Linked DNA regions of Homo sapiens: region 1 is linked to region 2. Evidence: promoter capture Hi-C in human tissues and cell types (Jung and others, 2019). All regions are on one chromosome and are shown on one strand. Each heading gives the region's core, a stretch centred on a gene start or on the middle of the fragment in contact. The rest is flanking DNA. Distances are from core to core; before and after follow the strand shown.

Region 1 (4,799 bases), core at 1,606-4,105, 140 kb before region 2:
GAGTATCTTTTTCCATCCTTTTACTTTTGACCTGTTTGTATCTTTGGATAAATAAATCCTTCCTTATCAGTAATTACATTAAATGTACATGGATCAAATTATCCGATCAAAAAGCAGAAATTGACAGAATAGGAAAAAAATGATGCCTTTTGATTGGATAATTTGATCCATGTACATTTAACATAATTACCAATAAGGAAGGATTTATTTCTGCCATTTTTCTATTTTTTTTCGGTATATTCTATACCTTTTTTTTGGTATCTCATTTCCTGCATTATGGCTTTTATGTTTAGTTGATTGTAGTGCACTGTTTTGATTTCCTTCTCATTGTCTTTGTATTGTTTTTAAATATATTATTTGTGGTTACTGTGGGGGAGGCTTTACATATAACATCCTATAATTCAATCTAATGTGAATTTATAACAAGTTAATCAGCTTTTAAAAATGCTGCTCCTATATATCTGTTCCCTCTTTTTGTTATAGATTACATTTTTAAGCATTGTATTCCCAGTAATATAGATTTACAATTTTGTGTGCATATTTGTCTTTAAAATCATGTAGGAAATAAAAAGTGGATTTATAAAGCAAAAATACAATTATACTTGTTTTGTATTCTCCCATATATTTACTAAAGATTGGGTCAAGTGTATTCCTTCCATTTCAATAAAAAGCTTTGACTCCTTTTAGCATTTGTTTTGTAGGGTAGATTTAGTGGCAACAAACTCCCTCCACCTTTTATCTGTGTGTCTTTATTTTTCCTTCAGTTTTGGATGATAGTTTTGCTGGACATAGTATTCTTGTTTGAAAGCTTTTTTTTCTCTATTATTTTAAATGTTATTCCACTGCCTTTTGGCCTCCATGGTTGTTTCTTTTGTGAAATTGATGGTTAATCTTATTGAGAATTTCTTGTGCTGAACCATTTCTGTTTTGCTTCTTTCCGTATTTTCTTTGTCTTTTAACGGTTTGATTATAAAGTGTCTTATTGTGTGTCTCTGAGTTTATCCTACATGTAATTTGTTGTGTTTATTAGATTTGTAGATTTGTGTCTGTTATCAAATATGGCAAGTTTTTAGCCATTAATTTTTCAGATAATCTTTTGCCCCTTTCTCTTCTTCTGAAACTCTCAGAAAGTTCATGTTGGTCTATTTGATCTTATTCCATGGGCCCCTTAGGCTTTTGCTTACTTTACTTCATTCTTTCCTTTACTGCTCCTCAGGTTCTGTTACATCAGTCTTGGCCTCTTTACTGCAAATTGTTGGTAAAAGCTCTGACTTTCTGCTGGGTCAGACCACCTCAGTTAGGGTAGAGGTGGTTAAGGTGTCTAATTACCACCCAGTGGGGTGGAAGTTCAAGTTTCCTACTTGGCCTTCTCTGACTTTACCATGGCTAGGGTGCTGGGGTGAGGCATCACATTGTAGCCCGGCCAGGGTGGAAGTCTAGGCTAATTGGCCTTTTCTTGTGTGAATGGGATTAGGGTCTGTGGAGTAGAGGAGCTGTTGTCTTACTGTTTCTCTAGGCTGCTATTTCAACTGTATTTCACCTACAGGTGTGTCATTTCTCTTGCCAGATTCAAGATTTTTTTCTTTGTCTTTGGTTTTCAGAAATTTGAATTTGGTGTATCTTGGTGTTTCTTTGGGTTTTATCCTTCCTAGTGTTTGCTAACCTTCTATCTGTAGATTTATGTCTTTTGCCAAATTTGAGACATTTCAAACAGTAGTGTTTTTGGAGGACTTTTCTAACTCTGTCCTCTTTTTCCTTTCCTTTTGGGACTCCAGTGACATGAATGTTACTTTTTTTTTTTTGTTACAAGCCTACAGATCCCTAAGGCTCTGTTTTACTTTTCCCCCCACCCAGTCTGTTTTTCGGGTTGGGTACTTTTTATTATTCTGTCTTCCAGTTCACTGATTCTTTCCATTTTATTCTTCTGTATATCTTCTATTTCTTTTCTAGAAGTTTCTGTGTTTTCATTTGTTTTTTAAGTGCATGTGTATTGGTTATTGGAGCACTTTTATGATGACTGCTTTAAAATCTTTGTCAGGTATTTCCAATATCTCTGTAATTTTGGTGTTGGCATCTGTTGATTGTCCTTTTCTATTTAAATTCTAGTTTTCCTGGTGTTTGGCATGATAAATGATTTTTTTATTTGAAACTTGAACATTTTGAGTACTATGGTATTGCCAAGTGGAGTTAAAAGGTCGGCCTCTCTACTTGGCCTCTCTACATCTGTGAGGGAGAAGCAGCTTCTTGTTATTGCTGAGTGGATATGGGAGTTCTGGCTCCTTTCTGGACATTAGCTGATACCACCCTGACTAGAGGAGTAGGAGTTCCTTATACTGTTCCCCACATAATCTCTACTGACACCAAATGATTCTTCTTCAGTGGATAGAGAAAATGTTCTTAGTACTATTATTACATAAATAAAAATTATTTAAAATAGTGTTTCTTTTATTCTTTAAAATTACTTGCATGTTTTGTAATTACATACTATATGTTCATAATTCATTAGTTAAATAAATAGGTGGGAGTCCATGCCTTACTATTTTACTGATAAAGAGACCCAATTGGATGTGTTTGGAGACAACTACATGAGATGCTATAGTGAATGTCTTCTTTCTCTGCAACCTGGGAGCTAAAATTGTATCATAATCCTTCCTTACTTTCCTCTCACCCCCTTTGTCCTTTGTCTGTTATATTTAACTTAGCTGCCTTTTGTTGTTTATCTGTGCTCTCATTGCTCACTTAGTTTCTGAAGTGTATTGATACACTTAGTTAATAATCTAGATCCTGGCAGTGGAGACTGTATAATGCTTGTCCTGTGCCTTTCAGTAGTTTTCCTTTTCTAGCATAGTATTTTGACTTTCATGGAAAGCAGGAAGCATATCTTTTAAAACTTTTGTGCAAGGAGTAAGGATATGTATTCGTATTATATGCTGGAAACTGTCATATGTGCTTTCAAAAGAATTTCTCAAACATGCCAGACACGGTGGCTCACGACTGTAATCGCAGCACTTTGGGAGGCCCAGGTGGGCCGATCACTTGAGGTCAGGAGTTGGAGACCAGCCTGGCCAACATGGTGAAACCCTGTCTCTACTAAAAATACAAAAACTAGCCAGGCGTAGTGGCAGGCGCCTGTAATCCCAGCTACTCAGGAGGTTGAGGTGGGAGAATCGCTTGAACCCAGGAGGTGGAGGTTGCAGTGAGCCAAAATCATGCCACTGCAATTCAGCGTGGGTGACAAAGCAAAAACTCCATCTCAAAAAAAAAAAAACAACAACAACAACAAAAAAAAACAATTTCTCAATCCATTTTGCATATGGTGGAAATTGTAGCTGTATAATCTCCAAATGACTTAATTTAGAAAGCTTCGAGTTTCATTATAAGTGTTAACAGTTTTTAAAGAGATCTTAGAACACTCCAAATTAGAAGTGATTTTACTCAGAAATTAGAGGTGAGTCAGATCTAAGTATCTATCTTTAATTCCTTAGCCCATTATTACTGTTTTATCATCATACCATTTTTTCTAAGATAAAATTATTTGATAATTCTTTAAGTTGGGCAACAGTAGTGGGGACAGGACAGGCAGACATTTTTAAAAGTTGGAATGAGTTTGTAAGTCACAAAATATAATTGAGAAGCAACTTTTACATAATGCTTATTTACCTTTCAATGTAGCAGCTATTCTTTATGTGTGTTTATAAAGTCTTTTAAAATCTTTTTTTAGGTAGGTAGCCATCCAAGCTTCCTGAAGGAGGTTCGAGATCACATGCAGGACTCTTTCTTAATGCAGCCTGAGGTAAGCAGGAATGTAAATGGAGTTCAAGGCCTTAACATTTTTGAGCACTGCTACTACTGTCATTAATATGTATCTGAAAAATCTTGTCCAATTTGAAATATATTAAAATTTCCAAACTTAAATTGTATCAAATGATGAATGTTTTATCTCTGAGACATAGATTTCTAATTTCACTAATTTTACATGTATTTTCTTGTGATATGCTCATTTGTCTTTAGTTATTTATGTTCTTAGGAAATTATTTTCAGATTTTTTTAGTGCACAATACCTTGTACACAGTAGGCATTTAATAAAGGGATATAAAAATCCTCTCTTTTGTGCCTACCTGAAAAGTTAAAAAAAAAACCCTTTCTTTCAAAAAAATTTCTAAGTCTGTGTTCCTGTTAATCCAGATAAATGAATTAGTAATGAGTAATAAGTGTTTAAAATTAGGAAGACTTTTAACTGTAGTACAGTTATCAAGATAATGAAATTTACATCAGTAAACTATTATTGTCAGGTTAGTCAATAGAGCGTATTCAAATTTTGTCTGTTAATGTCCCTTACAGCAAATGAAAAACAATTATTTCTTGTCTAGAATCCAGTACAGGATCATAGGCTATTATTATTCCTCTTCTTTTTTTTTTTTTTTTTGAGACAGAGTTTCGCTCTTGTTGCCCAGGCTGGAGTGCAACGGCACCATCTCGGCTCACCGCAACCTCCGCCCCCTGGGTTCAAGCGATTCTCCTGCCTCAGCCTCCCAAGTAGCTGGGATTACAGTCATGCACCACCACACCCGGCTAATTTTGTATTTTTTTAGTAGAGATAGGGTTTCTCCATGTCGGTCAGGCTCCTGACCTCAGGTGATCCACCTGCCTCGGCCTCCCAAGTGTTGGCGTTACAGGCGTGAGCCACCGCGCCCGGCCCATTATTTCTTTAAATATAGTTTTTAGGCCTTTTCCCAACTCTCTTCTTCTGAGACCCCAATTCCAGATAATTCCTGCCACTTTCCCACAGTCACTGAGGC
Region 2 (5,188 bases), core at 2,568-5,067:
ATTACAGGGGTGCTTCAGCATAGCAGCGATCAGAACAGGCTTTTGTCATGTCTAAAACACAAGTCATGATGTCTGAACAGATGACCAAACACTGACCTCATAAACACAGTGCAGTCAGTTAAAAGGCAATTTCCTCATATAAATCCAAATGACATCCTTCAGGAACCTTACTCATTATCGACAGAAGAAATATGGAATCTTAGCATTTTGGCAAGGGATGAACCTTAGAAGTGGTCTAGTTTATGCTCCTTATTTTACAAACTGGGAAATGGCAGCTCAGAGAGGGTCCTGAGACTTGCCTAAAGTTGCACAGCCCACAGTGCTGACACCAGCACAGAAGTGCCCAACCTCCAACTCCTGGCCCAACTTCCCTTCCCCTCCCACACCACTTCATGGGCGATGCAGCAGGCAGACTGTTCAGCTTATGACACTATGTATTACATGCCTTTTGCATTTTATTATATTCTAACATACTGGAATACATATGTTTAGAAATGTGGGCTGGAGTACATGTTAAGCTTTCACTTTTTTTTTCCAGTCCAGACTGTCTCAAGGGGGGTATTTTTATCTTTTATAAAAATGGTTAAATATTACTGATATGCTAAGGACAGCCCAATTACTTCATCACAAATTTGAATTATCTTTTTTTTTTTTTCTGTCACACTTATGGCTTACTGCAGCCTCAATCTCTTGGGCTCAAATGATCCTCCTGCCTCAGCCTCCTGAGTAGCTGGGACTATAGGTTTGTACCACCACACTGGGCTAATTTTATAAAAAATATTTTGAAGTGACTGTATCTCACTATATTGCCTGGGCTGGTCTCAAACTCCTGGGCTCAAGAGATCCTCCTGCCTCAGCCTCCCAAAAAGTGCTGGGATTACATGCATGAGCCACCACACCCAGTCAGAATTATCTTTTTAAAGTAAATTCAGATATTTTTACTCTTGCTTAGTGAACAAAATCCCACAACCTGATAATTATGGTATTTTATTATTCCACTGATATTACTGATAAAAATTACATCTGTCAAAATATTTTCTATTTTTTTGCAGAAATAATTTCTATAGTATTAGTATGATTTCACTTTTCTTACTCAAATCTACTTCTATTGCTGTGTAACCAGAAATTGCTTCTATGTTCTAGAATAAAAGATTTATTTTAAAATCAACAGGAAATGGAGTTTCAGGAATAAATAAGCAATAATCCATGGAGATAATCAGGAGGTCTAAATGTAAAAAGCTAATTAATTTTTATATCTAGTATCATTAGTTTGTTAACAGTAAATTTAAAGCAAACCAATTCTTCAAATTAAATAAGACACATAAGAGTGTGGAAACTATTCACATCAACCATTACTTTTGGAGATGTACAGGAGTTTTAAAAAAGCAAGCAGTAGGCTGGGCGCGGTGGCTCACGCCTGTAATTCCAGCACTTTGGGAGGCTGAGGTGGGTGGATCACCTGAGGTCAGGAGTTTGAGACCAGCCTGTCCAACATGGTGAAACTGTGTCTCTACTAAAAATACAAAAATTAGCCAGGCGTGGTGGCGCATGCCTGTAATCCCAGCTACAAGGGAGGCTGAGGCAGGAGAATCGCTTTAACTGGGAGGCAGAAGTCGCAATGAGCCAAGACTGTGCCACTGTGCCATTGCACTCCAGCCTGGACAAGAGCAAAACTCTCAAAAAAAAAAAAAAAAAAAAAAAAGAAAAAGAAAAAGAAAAAAAGCAAGCAGTAGAGTACTAACCTAGTTATCATGAGGAATTTTCCACCACTGTAGGAATGAAAATTAAGATGAAACTTTATTATTTTTATTGCCTTTAAGCATTATACAGAAATTGCAGAAACATACTGTTTTTTAGAGACATATATGCTGTTGTCACATATATTGGATTTTTTCCCTCCTCAATTCAGTAAACATTTATTATTATTATAAAACATTATTACCTATTGTGTGTGGCACTGTGCCACACACTGAGGACAGCAAAACAATTAAGATCCAGTCCTCACTCTCAGGAGATTCATTTGCAATCTATGAGAGAGGCAGAGTGGCAAAAAACAGATCAAAATGTAAGTACTACATAGTACTGGGAATAGCTACCATCCAGCGGAGGGAGGAAGAAGGCATGGTGGTAGACGCCTGTAGTCCCAGCTACTCGGGAGGTTGCAGTGAGCCGAGATCGCACCACTGCACTCCAGCCTGGGTGACAGAGCGAGACTCCATCTCAAAAAAAAAAAAAAAAAAAAAAAAAAAAAAGGCTGCGATAAACGTAATTTTTCGTTTCAAATGTAGTGTGTACACGTTATTTTAGCTAAGAGAAATGAATATAATAAGTTAAAATGTGAGTAACATTCAAGAAAACTGGGTCAAAAATATTTTCCTTATTGGCAAAAAATTTTGTTACCCGCCATTCTTTTAAGACAGCTTTCAGCCAGTTAACGGTTCCTGGTTAAGAAACAGTACTGTCTGATTTGTTAGAGTAGTACCGTTTCGTGAATTACTTTCCACTACAGCAACACATGCATTGCCCTTATGAGATGCTTATCTCGATATGAACCAAACTGCTGAGCAGGTGGAATCTGTGCCAAACTAGCTGATGTTTACTTTGAACACACTGATATTCGGAAAATAAATCCCTCTTTTTTCCTCTTTAATCTTTTAATGTTTGTCTTGCACATGGATGGACCGCCAGTGAAGTGATGCGCACATCATAAATCACCATGGTTTTTAATTCCTGGGTGATGAGACCCATAATTCGCTTGTCAGCTGTTTGTATAGAATCATTTTTAAATGGCATGTTTTGGAGACATCTTGATAAAATAAAAACTGGAGTTCTAAAGTTGCAGTCACATATTCACGAACCGAGAACTCTACATGGTAGGATGAATTTTGCTCACTAGTGTGGAGTCGGCAACAAAGCAAATGCAGCCGCGTCACTGCCGTTTGTTTTCTCAAGTCTCCTACGGGAAGGGGCTCGGACAGTGCTTTTCCACTCCTCTGCAAATTCCTTATAGTTGAACACATCATAACAAACATACAGGTCGAGAAATCTGGTCGTGGCATTAATAGCTACAGTGTTTCTTAAAAATAAAAAGTTTTAAAAAGTTTCTGAAAAAAATGTAGGCGAGCCAACCTTGTTTCTAAACAATCCCAACAGGACTTTTAGGAGCACGGCGATGCTGAATGCCCGTGGACGGCTGGGTGCGCGCCGTTAGCTGGCGCGGTGACATCTGCTTAGAGTTTTCAAGCATTTCAGCATCGCTAGGAGCCCTACAGCCTGACGGTCCGGGACAGCCCGGCTTCCTCCACCCGAGGGGGAAAACAACCCCAGGAAAACAACTTAAACTCGGCCTTGGACTGTCCATCAAGGGAAGCCAAACGAGGCGCTGCTCTCCAGACCTCCAGGAGCAAAGGAGGAAGATCAATTATTCCAAAAGTTTCTCACAAATTTCCCGAGCTCCCCACAACTTTTTGAAGAATCCTGAAAGAATCCTAGGGGGCTGGGAGCCGCACACGTGCCGGGGCTCGGCTTCCCAGCTCGGCAGTCTCAGCCCGCTGGGCTCGCCCGGCAGCTCCGCTGCGCCGCCGACCCGCCCGTCCCCGCCCCGCGCTGCCCTCGGCCCCTGTGCCTGGCCTCCGGGGCGCCCGGCCCGCCTTACCCCGCTCTGCCGCGGCGGCGACCCGGGTGCGTTCCTCCGGAGCAGGGCTCCCGGCCGCTCTGAAAAGAATTCCTTTCACACGTGCGGTGCTGCTTCACGCGTGCGCCCCGCGCCAGGGCCCGACCTCCCCGCCCTGATCGCCATCCCTGCAGCCCCAGTGTGCGCTGCGCCCGACGCCCCCAAGCTGCAGCTCAGGACGCCGCGCCACGCCCCCGCCGCCTCCGAACAGCCCCGCCCCGCGCGCTTCCCAGCACGCACACCTACCGCCCCCGCATCCCTACCCTGTACGCGCAGCCACAGCACTCGCCCGCGTCCGCATTCCACACCCTACCCCGCGCGCACGTCCATGCCTAGCGCCTGCATCCCCATCCCGCACCTGCGCGGGCCCTGGGGATGTGGACGCGGGGGCTCTTCCCTGCCGCCTACGCACTCCGGGGCATGCCCGCGCGGGACGTGAGAGGAGAGCCGAGGGCTGTTGGGGCGGGCCCGACCCGCTTGCGGGGCGCCCACCGCACGCAGATGCGCCAGCCCGCGCCCCGCTCGCGCCTGTCCTGGGCTTCGCAGGCCCGGCGAGGTAGCTGCTCTCCGGGCGCTCCCACGGTCGGAGGCGCGTGGGCGTCGGGCACCTAGGTCTCGCCCGCCTGCAGCCGCCTGGGGACGCGGGTTCCGGACGGCTGGCGCGGGGCGGGGCGGGGACCACCGAGCAGGAAGTCCCCGCGGAAGCGCCGCCGGGCACAGCGTGGGTGCTGTCGAGGAGTGGCGCCCGGGCGGGGCGGGAGGTTATAAATAGCGGCCGCCATCCTGCTTCTCTTCAGACACACTTAATTTAGCCGGCAGGCACACGGATGCTTATTTTTAAAAAAAGAACTTGTTTTATTGCGCTCGAGGTGACCGGGAAGGTGTCCCCGCGGGTCACTCGCTCCATCTGGTCCTGGAGACGAGATGCCAGGGCGAGGCCTAACCTGCCTGCTGGCGCCCAACGAAGATTTTAACGTTTTCTGTTCCCTTCGGGGTGGTTTTACCACGCTTGAGAGGGACGCCTACCGCGGAAGGCCGCGGACCGAGGGCGGCATCGCGTCCTTGTCTGCTGTCTGGGCACAGCCTAGAGAGGCCGCGGGTCCCCTCCCCGTCCCCCAAGGTCTGGAGTGGGGTTTGACCAGCCTGGGATATTAACAAATATCGGTGGACTGCATTTCGGTGATCATTCCACAAGCTGAAATGGCTTCAAAATCACCTTTATGAGTAATAAGTTTATTCCAGGAATGTGGCAAAATGCAAGTCTGATAGTTTTCGTGTCTTCATGGAGCAGCTTCCGTCGGCTGCCTTCGTTAGCGTTTAGATCTACTCGGATTAGCAGTTGGCTTGCCCTGAAAAATGCGTTTGTTCTGCTGAGATCTGAATTTAAAGTTATCCCAAGGAGGAAAAACTAAGCTCCTAAAGGCGCATCTAAAATATCTTCTCCCTTTGGGAACTTTGCGGTGTATGTATGGAGTAGGTAGTAGTTACGGAGACTTAGTTTTTAATTTTTAATTG

The links. The method cuts DNA at HindIII sites, captures the fragments that hold promoters and counts their contacts. A contact is called where the count stands out against the background at its distance.
Region 1: a contact is called between a fragment that was not itself captured here and the fragment with the promoter of GJA3 in region 2, in 2 of the 25 tissues and cell types used here (IMR-90 fibroblasts and lymphoblastoid cells).

Annotation. Positions count from the first base shown.
Region 1 is chr13:20,015,826-20,020,624 of GRCh38, forward strand. ZMYM2 (zinc finger MYM-type containing 2) reads left to right here. Exons shown (of 25, transcript NM_197968.4): 7 at 3,722-3,793. Among named protein-coding and RNA genes, the nearest start is that of ZMYM2, 59 kb to the left of the region's middle. The HindIII fragment of the contact is 4,232 bases long and covers 740-4,799 here.
Region 2 is chr13:20,157,235-20,162,422 of GRCh38, forward strand. It overlaps GJA3 (gap junction protein alpha 3), which reads right to left and starts at 3,818. Exons shown (of 2, transcript NM_021954.4): 1 at 3,656-3,818. RefSeq lists silencers at 3,549-3,638, 3,799-3,878, 4,109-4,468. The HindIII fragment of the contact is 27,118 bases long and covers 1-5,188 here.